2 separate regions of the Homo sapiens genome follow, and region 1 is linked to region 2. Evidence: promoter capture Hi-C in human tissues and cell types (Jung and others, 2019). All regions are on one chromosome and are shown on one strand. Each heading gives the region's core, a stretch centred on a gene start or on the middle of the fragment in contact. The rest is flanking DNA. Distances are from core to core; before and after follow the strand shown.

The links. Contacts are between HindIII fragments. The study calls those that stand out against the background at their distance.
Region 1: a contact is called between a fragment that was not itself captured here and the fragment with the promoter of L3MBTL4 in region 2, in 1 of the 25 tissues and cell types used here (dorsolateral prefrontal cortex).

Annotation. Positions count from the first base shown.
Region 1 is chr18:5,846,395-5,852,575 of GRCh38, forward strand. All of the region lies in intron 4 of MIR3976HG (MIR3976 host gene), which reads left to right. Among named protein-coding and RNA genes, the nearest start is that of MIR3976, 8.8 kb to the left of the region's middle. The HindIII fragment of the contact is 4,810 bases long and covers 1,376-6,181 here.
Region 2 is chr18:6,412,993-6,419,313 of GRCh38, forward strand. L3MBTL4 (L3MBTL histone methyl-lysine binding protein 4) reads right to left here and starts at 1,919. Exons shown (of 19, transcript NM_001330559.2): 1 at 1,809-1,919. RefSeq lists a silencer at 1,422-1,961. The HindIII fragment of the contact is 7,728 bases long and covers 1-6,321 here.

The DNA.
Region 1 (6,181 bases), core at 2,531-5,030, 560 kb before region 2:
ATAACACTGACTCCAGACTGATTCTGTCTCATCTGCAGTCATGCTGGGTGTGAGCTTTGTGGAAACTTGAGTTTGAGTCAGTTTACCACCAGTTTCCAGTGTTTTAGGTCAGAATCAGACCTTGTTCTTCTTCAGGGCCAGGGATACAAGCACTGGTGAGATCCTGGAAAGCTCTTTTCCTTGACAGCTGAACTGGCCAGCTTTCTGGTTAGTTGGGAGACTTTTCTTCACTTTCCATCCCAGCTGCCAGCTGCTCTGGAATCTTGGGGAGGTTGTGCTCTCCAGCCCTGCTCAGCACTGCCTTCTATTCTGTGGAGGCCCCTTGGCTTCCTGCCTTCCTATCTCTTTTGGAGGGCAACTGCCTTGCCCCTGGGGGAGACACTTCAAGCCTTCATGGGGCAGCCCTGTGGACACCTTGATTTTAGTGAGACTGTGTCAGACTTCTGACCTGCAGACTGTTAGATGATACATTTATCTTGTTCTGAGCCAATAAGTCTGTGGTCTTTTATCACTGCAGAAACAGGAAATGGATGTACTCCCCCTAAACATTCAGTAAAGACCTGGGGGAAAGAGTTGCAGGTGGGAAAAGTTGCTTTGTGCCTAGGCCTATGGAATTCTGACTGTGTGAAGCAGACTACCTCTGGGTATTAAAAGCTCATTAAGAGTTGGGCTGGTGGTGTTGGGATGAATTGTGTCCTCACAAAATTAATATGTTGAATCCCTAATCCCAGCATCTCAGAGATTAACTCTATTTAAAGATAAGATCTTTACAGAGGTAATTATGGTAGACAGGACCATATCCAATAAGACTGGTGTCCTTCTAAGAACAGGGCATTAAGGCACAGACACAGAGGGAAGACCTTGTGGAGGCTTGGAGGAAGACAGCCATCTACTATCCAAAGACAGAGACATCAGGATGTAACCAACCCTACAACACCTTGATCTGGGACTTCCACCCAGCCTGTGGTGCTGGTCATGCCAGCCTGAGCAGACTGTCACAGCCGGCTTTTCCTGACTCCCCTTTACAGAGGGCTCCTACCCTTCCTGCCACTCCACAGGTAAGAAAGAAGTCATGGGTCTCTCATCTCCCGGCAAGGGCTCGTCACTTTCTGAAATTCAACTAATTTAAGCTTCTTTGCATTATTAGCTCTCTATTAGTTTAAAAAAACAAAAATCACAATTATTCAGCTTATTTTGGTGGAAGTCTCCAAGCACTAGTGTTTCTAAAAAGTGTTCTTCCACAGCCAAAATGAAAATCCCCTTGGCTAAGATGTCCTAGTTTACAGGCTTGGCATATTTTATAAAAAAATTGAGGTACCAAACAACCTTCAGAAGAACATCAAGTCACAGTCTCCCATCCCAAAACACACACACACACACACACACACACACACACACACACACTCCTTTCACCTCATAGTCTTGAGACAAATGCTCTTTGACCTGTGGAATAGGTCATTTTGACCCTGTTTTTGGCCACCAGTGAACATACAAGTTTGTGTTGGTTTTTTACCCCCCAATAATGACCTTCCTTCCTTCCTTCCTTCTTTTCTTTCCTTCTTCACTAGTGTGACCCAACAGACATGTAATAGAATGCCAAACTACACTGTAGGGCATAAGCTTCTGGAAAGTAGTGGCAGTTATGTGACAAGAAAGATTGCCAGCCCAAATCTCAAACCTTTATGGAAGTTCCTAATGATGGTACACCATGTAGTGGTATTTGAACAGTTTTCCTGGACTAATAGCTAATAATTCTTACATTTCTATTTCATATTACCTTTATAAGTATCAAGACATTCAAAATATTTTTATGCCATCTGCTACCTCTTTTGTGCTAAGCTTTTTAAAAAATTTATCTAACACTTAACAATTGACTTTCTTTTTATAGGTATTCAGTGCATTAAATTTTTTCTTTAGAAATATCTTTGAGATATTTTTAGATACTTCTCCTAGGGCCTTTCACCCTCCAAAGATAGAAGACAATTTTCTCATAATTCTATAATGCAGTGAATTTTATAGATGTATGTATACATGTTTAATAATTAAATTGCTGCTCAGTTTCTCACTGTTTAAGGGAGAGGGCTGACCATGTTCAGAAGCCTAGAATCCTCACTCTGTCAATGATTATAGTTACCAGTAAGACTAACAGACTCAGTTCCCACATTGAGTGAGTGGCAAAGAGCAAAGTATTCAGGCATTGAAGAGATATTGAGATCACTGAGCTAGAGATCACTTAAAGTACGTTGTTCTGTACAAACGCCTGTGGTCAGATCAATCTTCAGAGACCGAGTTCTTAGCTTTGCATGTCCTGTGCTGCTTCTCATTCTTGAGGCATTTTCTGAACTGTCACAGACTTACCAGACCCCCAAAGCATGCAAAGGTGTCATTTACAGTGAGCCCTATAACTTCCAGGTGGACCACAACATCAATGTGTGTATGCCAGGACATATTGTCCCAGTGGGAAGTCTACAAGGGAAGTCAAATGATTCTCAGAAGGTGGTTTTGGCAAGCAGGAATCAGAGCAGCAGCATATCTTAGCAATCCAGCAATTCAGCTGTGATAGTCCAGTGTGGCAGCTTCCACCATCTACCCACCACAGGGATCAGAAATGGTACAGCTGCTTGTTAAGACCCTCGTCACTGTTGGAAAGAAACTGAAATCCTTGCTGTTTCACCTCCTTCTCCTTCTTAAATTGTTTTAAATATCCCAAGATGACTTTCGATGTCCTGTTGGTTGTATGCTAGGATATAATATATTGGTCCTACATTTCTCTATAAAATTTCAGTTACTTTACCTAAGAGTTTGCCAATCTCTTCTACCAAGCACTCAAAATGTCTTGGGTTACTTCTAAGAAGGCTAACCACTTTTTTTAGGTGTTAATTTCCCTAGTTCTACTTCAATAGGTTACCTATTGAAGTATTTGGAGTAAAAGAGACTATCACAGTCACCTGGTGGCCTCCATAAAAATATTTATTATGTAATTAAATAAAGTACTAGTGGCTAAGAACTATTGAGCCTTTACTACTACATGCCAGATACAGAACTATACGTTTCATATCTAGTATCTCATTTAACCCTCATAACAAACCTAGGAGGCACAGGAACTATTATTATCCTCCATTTTATAGATGCAGAAACAGGTAAGCAAAGTCAGGTCACCCATTGTTTTAACTGCTCTAAGATATTGTCTCCACCAACCATAATGGGCATGATTGATTCCATTAGCCCTAAACTACAAAGTCAGACACTAGTTTAAGTGGTAGATATGATACAGTATGAATGATTGTTTAAAATGTAATTCCTTTATAAGGCAAGGATTTGGGTTGGACCTAACACTTCTATTTCAGAACTAACCATGTTATATCAAATTTGTATCGCATGAGATTTTATATTTCAAGGGCATGATTTAGCTCATGGTACATCCAACTGCATGAAGTAAGGAAACTTGCTATAATAGAATGCCATGGTATGTATTAACATGTCCATCGGAAAAGCTTCCTCAGAACTACAAATGTATGACTCCCATGCTTAATGGGGATCAGGCTGAACACTGTAACAAGCTGCCAGATAATCTGGTGCATACTTGGAGCATAGGGACTCTGCTTCCAGGAAATGCATAAAACTCAAGTATAGACAGGTCATCGATGAGGGTGTGTTCGGAAGGCTTGTGGCCAAGAACCATGACATTAACATAACCCATTAGAGACTTTTCCTTCTTTTATCACTCAGATTGTATGCATCAGATCAGTGGTTTTAAAAGCAGTTTGCCACTAACAGCAATACATCACAAGTTTTCACAGGTTTCTGATTTCTTATAAAATAAAAAATAACGTCATTGGAAACATCTCTGTTAGAATATTTGACTAATGAGTCCTGTGTTCGGGCCTCACGTTTTGCTGGGAAGATGTCCACAGTCTGTGGTCATGAGCTACATCCTAGCTCTTCATTTCTGGAATAAATATTTTTATATTCCTCTCTCCTTTGAAATTCTGTATTTTTGTGTCATGTTTTAATTCCTTTGACATTGCTCTTACAGTGTGGTCATTTGAAAGCTAAACAAAACCACCTGGACTTCTGGATAATCGCTCATATTTTAGTATTTTTCTTTCATTAATGTTCATATATAATGATTTTGTTTCTCAGTTGGAGGGGTAACTTTTATCTCCCAAGGGATATCTGGCAATGTCTGGGGACATTCTTGGTTGTCACAACCTGGGCGACAGGGATACTAGCAGGAGCCAGTAGATAGAAGCCAGGGTTGTTGCTAAACATCCCACGGTGACTAGAAGGACCCACGCAACCAATAACTGTCTGGCCCAAAATGTCAGTAGTGTCAAGGTTGAGAAATTTCAGCTTAAGGAAAGCACTTCTGAAAACATTAAGATTTACTTATGCTTAATTTTAGTCTGTTGACATGAAGATTTTCATCACGTTTTAATATTCTTATTAATTAAATGGTGCTTGTCTACTTTCTAATTAGCATTAAATGACTTTTCCTATATTCCAGGGCTATAGAAAGATTTTTTAAAGATCTATATGAAGAATAAGAAGTTAGTCCCTTTCGGACAAAAATCTTCAGTAAAATTGATCTGTGCCCCAGGCACACAAAGAAGCAGGAATCTGGGTATTCTCACTGTCAATATTCCATATGTCTAGCCCCTGGAAACCTAAAACAAGACCAGAGAATACCAAGGAAGGCAGATTATTTGGAAGACATGGATGCCAAAGTGCTTCTCAATCCAGTCTCAGAAGCCAGAGATGTCAGTGGGTGCTGCTGTTTTATTTCCTGTGAATCGGAGGACGATGAGAAACCAAATGAAAATATTGCCACAGTTAAGATTGAAAAGAAGGCAATTTATGAGTGAGGTGTGGATTTCAAATGAGATCTTCTCTGTTGACAGAGAGCCTTTGCTCTAAGCCAATACCTGAGCTTCTGCCAGTTTGAACAATTATAATGGAGGAAGGAGATGAGGGATTAGAAAAAACAAAGCTGACAGATGGCAATTTGTGAAGAGTTGAATCAACATAAATTATATCTCATCAGTGAGCAGAGGAAAGAGAGGATGTTTTCCAGTGTTCGGCTAACCACTGAGATGGTGAACATGCCAGAGGCACAGCAAGCAAACCACTGGGCACCCTCCAGATCTGGATGCAAGCACAGAGCTGGAGAAATACCCTTTATTGGAAAGCCATATGGATTGCAAATTGTGGATAGACATCTATTTGAAACAATACAATAAATGAACATCTGGGATTTTGGTAGGTGTCAGTCATAGACTACAGAAAACCAGAACAAAATTGCTCATAACTAAATATGATAATGCAGAAAGTATCCAAGACTCGCCAGTTCAAAACCCACATTTTTAATAGTGTATATGGTTAAGTGTAAATGTTTTTTTCTGAGGTTAGAAACAGTTCACTGAAATCATATAAAATGTTCAAGTTATCAATTTTTTTCTGTAGCCTTAAATTTTCATTCTTTGAAATTAAGTAATTAAACATTAATGTTAACTTTCCAAACTTTTGTAACTATCAAGGGAAATAGAAAAGTCAGCTTGTCAGACTCAATACATTGTAATAACATATAATATAAAATAACATAGATATGGATACACATAAAAAATTACTTTAAGTCATGATAATTATAACTTTGGGGATTAAGTAAAAAAGATCTCCAAATTCAAATATAACAAATATTAGGTTCATGTGAAATAAAAATCTTTTAGCAAGATTTCTGCGTGAAAATTTTTCATTGTATGAAAACCCTGAGTTTCTCTAGTGAACAAACTAGAACCCAGTCAGAATAACTAGACCAGCAGATGGCACTAAAAGGAAAACTAACAGTCTCAGATTTTCCTAGGGCTTAAAATTATAGAACGGGAAGATTCCAAAGTGAATATAAAATAGATTGAAATCTATATTTCTGATTATATATGTAAAGGCAAAGAAATAGATTTTGGGAAAAGCAATATAAGGCTTATGTCTACTTTTTTTTTCATTTTGAATGATCGGCTGTGGTACAAATAAGTTTTACACATCCTAAAGATTGTTTCTAGTCAACAAATATATTGTCTCAAGTTATCATTAAAATGATTATGTAGAGATATTATTATAACAGTTGTTCTACTGGGAAAAGCAGCGGGTGGTTAACGCTTGTAAGAAACGAACAGCATCGCAGTGG
Region 2 (6,321 bases), core at 669-3,168:
CGGGATCCTTTGAGCCCAGGAGGTTAAGGCTGCAGTGAGCCATGATGGTACCACTGCACTTCAGCCTGGGTGACAGAGTGAGACCCTATCTCTAAAAAATAAAAATAAAATGTTTAAAAAGTGAAAGTTAACACAGTTCCTTCACTTTCATTACCTCTGTCTTCACCAGATCACCTTCCCACCAATACCCTTTCTTTGGAAACTGAGTGAGAGCACACTGCAGAGGTTAACCAAGCTGAACATTTCTTGTGACCCCAATATTGTACAGCAAAGTGCTAAGTGATTCTGCAGTCAAGGGTTACATGCAATACATCCTCAATGTTGCCTCACATCTAAGAGCATAATTAATAGCAGTTTTATGTTCATCTTCCTTCCTACTCAACCATTACACACCAAGTCAGTGTAGTCGAATCCAATCCCTTTGGATACTCCAAGAAAAAAACCTCTCCTCTTTCAACCGTTTCTCCTAATTCTGTAGTAATATAAGGAATGCATTCCAAGTTTTTAATATTACCAAGGGCCAAAAACAACTCTACTGTACCCACCACCTGTTTGTCACCTTAACCTTTTTAGGTGGAATAGATTAGAAAACCGAAGAGCCACACTACACTTATTTCAGCCAAGGACTGAAACTGGAGCCTGCCACAAGCATCTTCTAGAACAGCTCCAACAGAAGGATCCAGGAGATGGGCCACCAGCAAGTCATAGTGGAGTCCAAACAAGTGTGAAGTGAGAGCGAGTCTTCAGCATGGGAATGGCCGAGTGGGTCGTGGTGACCAGCTGCCTTCCTCTGACTGTTAAGTACAGCAGTCTCAACAGTAACAATGACCAGGCCTTCCCTTTATTTAGTTCCACCTCGGGGCATTGGCGCATTAAGAATGTCCCTCTAAAGGCATATGTAAGATAAAGCACACTTCGCACTTTAACCAGTGACTAAGGGAGATCAAAAGCAGGGGACAATACCCACCCGGAATTTGCGACCTCGCGAAAACGCTCTCACCAATCCCGCAGGTAAGTGCGGCGCTGGCCCAGGTGTGCCCAGCTCGACTCGCGTCCACCTGGGACCAAGCGGGCCCAAGAAGGCCCGGAGAGCAGGCGAGGGCGACTGTGGCCGGCGCGCCCCCCGCAGTTCCAGGCGGTGGCAGGAGCCTGAGAGCCGCCGTCCCAGGCTGGCCAGGCGCCCGCCCGCCCTGCGCGCACTCCCTGGGCTCCCGCTCCCGAGGCTGGGCAGAACTCGCAGAGGAAGACAAGGGCAGAAAGCGGGTGGAGGGAGGCAGCGCTCGCCCGTCCGGGCACACGACACTTGTCGGCTGAGGGGGACACGCGGGCAGACGGGGGCGTTAGCCCCAGAGGAAACAAAAGCCAAATGCCCACCGCCGGGCGCTCGATGGCCGGAGGACTGCCTGGGGGCCCTCAGGAGTCCCGTCCCGTCCCGCTCCCCCGGTCCCAGGCTGCGCTGGCTCCAGGGCGCCCAGGTAGCCGCGCCTGGCACCCCGACCCTGCCCTCGCGGCTGACCGAGGCGCCGGGCTCTGCGGCGGCCGCGCCCGTCCAAAGTAGGCGACAAGTGAGGCAGCGCCTCTCGCGGGGAGCCCGGCGCGCGCCCCGGCGGCGAAAGAGAAAGAGAAAGAGCCTGGGCCGGGACCGGGGCTATCCCCAACCGCCACCGCCCCCACCGGCCCGGCCCTCGCCGCGGGAGTCGTGCAGGCCCCTCTACCTGCCCGGGGATGGGGCCACCCCGCGCGGCGGCGGCCGTGGGCACCCACGCGGGCTCGCGACCATCCCACGCGGGCGGCGGCGTCCTTCTTACCCCCAGCGGAGCGGCGCCTGCCCGCAACGCCGACCGAGCTACAGGCGGGGGGCGAGTCGGAGCGCGAGGTTCCGCCAGCCCAGGCTGCGGCGCCGCTGCCCCGCGGTGCCCGGCGGGAGGGGCGCGAGGGTGCACGCGCGGGGTGGGGGCGCGGGAGCCGCCCCCTGCCCGCCCCGCGCGCATGCTCCCGCCGCACCTGCCTCGCTCAGTGTTCCACACCCCGGGGAGCCGGGTGGCGCTGGGCCCGCCGAGGTCGGGGCTTTCCCATGGGAGGGAGGTGGCTGCGGCGGAATTTTCAGATGCGTCCTTCTCTGTATTCGTTCCCTGGGAAGGATTCCCCCAAATCTTGGCTACTTCCTGCCTGCCAGCTTGCTCCCTGGCAGCGAAGTCCCAGTAGCTCACCCATGCTTCATCCCAGCTCTTGGGGTTCACCGTCTGAAGGCTCTCTCCTCCGGATCCCTCTCGGTCCTGCTGCTCGCTCCGATTTTGCAACCTCCCCCACTCCCCTTTCCTGCTCTTGACTTTGCTACTCACGAGTACCTGGATACCATTTCCAAATAAAAGAATACTCTTTCCAAGTGGCAAGCAGTGTTTACTGACCCTGTTCTAACTGCTTGGAATTGAGCAGGAAACAGGAGCTGGGTAGATCCTGCCCTCATGGAACTTATGGCCTTACTGGCTAGCTTTGGCCTTTCTCAAAGCATTGTCTCCCAGTTTGGGAGGACTGTATTAAATCATTTATTTTGGCTTACAAATAAAGGTAGCTGATAATTGAAGACTATATGTTGTGACTTTTGAATGAAATGTTCTTTCATAGGACGCCTTGTGTATAAACCCTAGTATGCAAATAATAAATAGTAGGTACTAAATAAGTATTAGTTTGTTGCTTTCAGCAGGAAATTGAATCATTTAGCAGGATTAACAATGATACCATCCAAAATGATCTTTTTGGTTTGTCGTGGGCTACCATAAACAGAGAATGAAAACTTGCTTTTTAGGTGAGACTGGGCATTGTTGAAACATAATTTCGTGTCCTTACTGAAAAGAGAAATATAAACCCCTTTGCTAATGAAGTTTTTAAACTAGGAACAATGATCATAGAAATTTGTAAGTGCAAACACACGATTTGTGTTCTGTGCTCTAGTCAGTTAAGAAAAATATATTAGCCAGGTATGGCGGCTCACATCTGTAATCCCAGCACTTTGGGAGGCCGAAGAGGGCGGATCACTTGAGGTCAGGAGTTCGAGACCAGCCTGGCCAACATGGTGAAACCCTGTCTCTACTAAAAATACGAAATTAGCTGGGTGTGGTGGCGGGCGCCTGTAATCTCAACTACTCGGGAGGCTGAGACACTAGAATCGCTTGAACCTGGGAGGCAGAGGCTCCAGTGAGCTGAGATAGTACCACTGCACTCCAGCCTGGGCAACAGAGCGAAACTCCAACTCAAAAAAAAAAAAAAGAAGAAGAAAAAGAAAAACAAAAAGAAAAAGATATTAGAGACAAAGAGAAAAAGAAAGAAGTAGAAGACCTCAGTAGCGAGAGGAAAACATTTGAAACTCAGTTCCAACCAATTTTAACATTGTGCTAAGGACTTACAGTGTTGCATTACTGTGACAATGGGCATGCCTGCAGGTACCACCTTTGGTTGGATACTTGTTCACCAGATTGGATGAAATTAGAACGGGACTCAGCAGGTGAGAGTTCCACCTCCCTGCTACTCACAGGAACACGGATACCATTTTTGGTGAAGGATAAAGTGCTTCAATTATTGCAGTGTATCCCCAGTCCATCCCAGAGGTATTTATTTATCATTGGAGATTCTAGGTATTAGTAATAGAGATATCAAAATGTCCCCAGCACAGAAAGAGTTAAGTGCACTTCTGGTTCCAGGAGCCCTTCAGAAAAGTGAATATTGATGTTATAATATATGAAATCAAAGAAGAAAGCTGGATTGAAATCCAAATAAAGTGAATTTACATCAGCTTATCTTCACTTCTTGGGGGGAAACAATTGTTTTTATAACATGTTTATTGACTATATTTGGTTTAAGTTTATGAAAGCAGACACACTGTTTTCAGGGGCTGGGTTTACATAAGGAAAAGGATACACCAATGAAACAAGTTGAAACAGGCAGGAAACCTCATCTACAGCTACTTAAATGTAAGTGCATAGGTGCATAGTGCTGACAACATATGATTCTGTTCAGAGAAGCTGACATCTGTCTTAAACTACACTGTTATTCAAATTTTATGGAAATATAAGCAGGAACGCATTAGTACACTTCTTACAAAATTTTTGAAAGCTGTTGTAGTAAATCCCTTTTATCTGAACGGCTGCAGATTAAAATGAAATAGCCATATTGTTGATTTTTATAACTTTGCTAATGATCCATCATGAGCAAAGGGGTTTATAGCATTGGTAGTTGCTAGGCATTTTACTTTTATAATTCAGTTGAATCCAACCAACTCTCAATGCAAAGTTGACCAGATAGACAAGGATGGTTTATTGTTAAGATAGAAATTTCTGATGGCATGATACAGAGAACCCCTTTCTGGAGGTCATCAAAACATAACAGGCACAGCAGTCCTATAATGTGTCCATCTATTGTCAATGAAAATGAAACTTTCCACCTGCTAAGATAGTGACTGGTTTTATCCAAGGAACTCTCCATTTTAAAAACTTCGCTAAACTTGTTTACATTTTTCTGGCTGGTTGTGTATGTTTCTTTTCTTTACTTTTCTTTTTTGAGACAGGATCTTGCTCTGTCACCCAGGCTAGAGTGCAGTGGTATGATCATGGCTCACTGTAGCCCCCACCTCCCAAGCTCAACTGATCCTCCCACCTCAGCCTCCAGAGAAGCTGGGACCACAGGCATGTGCCACCACTTCTGGCTAATTTTTTAAATTTTTTTGTAGCGATGGAGGTCTCACTGTATTGCCTAGGCTGGTCTCAAATTGCTGGGGTCAAGCAATCCTCCCCGCTTAACCTCCCAAAGTGCTGGCATTACAGTCATGAGCCACAAGGCCTGGCCTATATTTCTTTTCTAAGTAGGATTAAATTACATTGCTTTATTATTTGATCAATAGCAGGATTGGCTCTTGGTAGCAGTGTGGGTTTTTTCTGTGTTTTTTTGAGACAAGGTCTCGCTTTATCACCCAGGCTGGAGTGCACTGGTGCCACCACAGCTCACTGCAGCCTTGACCTCTGGGCTCAGGTGATCCTCCTGCCTCAGCCTCCTGGGTAGCTGGGACCACAGGTGTACAGCACTATGCCTGGCTAATTTTTAAACTATTTGTAGAGATGGGGTTTAATATGTTTTTAAGACTTGAGATTGTTTCTTAGCATATATTTTGAATATGACCATTTGGGAGAATTTAACACAGAGTGAATTTCTTTATATGCTTTGGTATAACTGAGGAGAAGTTATCTTAACAGAATTCTATACTTGCTTGGACAAGCAAATTTTCCACAGCAACCAAAAATATTTCATTAGTCACTATCTTCAACAACTATTATCATCAAGTTTATTTTCATGTTAATGCCACTGTTAATAATTTTCTATGTTACAGTTGTGTTTTCCTACATGGATGGTCCAATATTAAGCTTCCTTTAGTGGGTCGAGGTATAAATAATTGCATAGCATACTATTTAAATGTAAATACTGGTTCAGAAAGAAGTGTAAATTATATTGAATAATTAAAAATAATTTTATTTATTTATTTACTTTGGTAGAGATAGAGTCTTACTGTTTTGCCCAGGCTGGTCTTGAAATCCTGGCCTCAAGCCACCCTCCGGCCTTGGCCTCCCAAAGTATTGAGATTACAGACATGAGCCACCATGCCCAGTCTAAAACCAATTTTAAATAAATGATATCATAAAGCTTTATAAATAAGATAATATGCACATTATGTGATTTTGAACAAATGACTTAAAATCTATATAGAAATCTACTTACTTGTACATTTGTGCTTTCTTTTAGTTGAACAAAGTTATCAAAAAGTAGCTTAAAAATACTCCCTTCAGGTCTACTTCCTTGAATTTTTAAAAATCCAACATAGACATAATTTTTCTGATGATGCTTAGAGTCTGTATAAACTGAACAAGATAAGAATCCTCTTGTCAATAAAAAAAAAAAAAGCTTCACTTCCCACTACAACCAATACCGAATAAGCTAATGGCATTTAAAGAAAGGCATGAAAACTCCAGAAGGAAAAATAGCAGTCTCTTTAATCCTATTTTCATAGTTATTGATGGTACAACCATGCTATCTCAAAGTCAAAGATCTGGAAGAAGAAAACCTGAAAATTTGATGATGGGAATTCTTGAATAGCAATATGCCCCCATTAACTGTAGCTAGACACAAATTCTCTTAAAAATAGCAGGTAGTATAATACAGACATACCTCGGAAATATTACCAGTCTGGTTCCAGACCACCACAATAAAATGAATATAGCATGAAGGAAATCACACAAATTTTTTGGTTTCCCAATACATATAAAAGTGGAGTTTAAT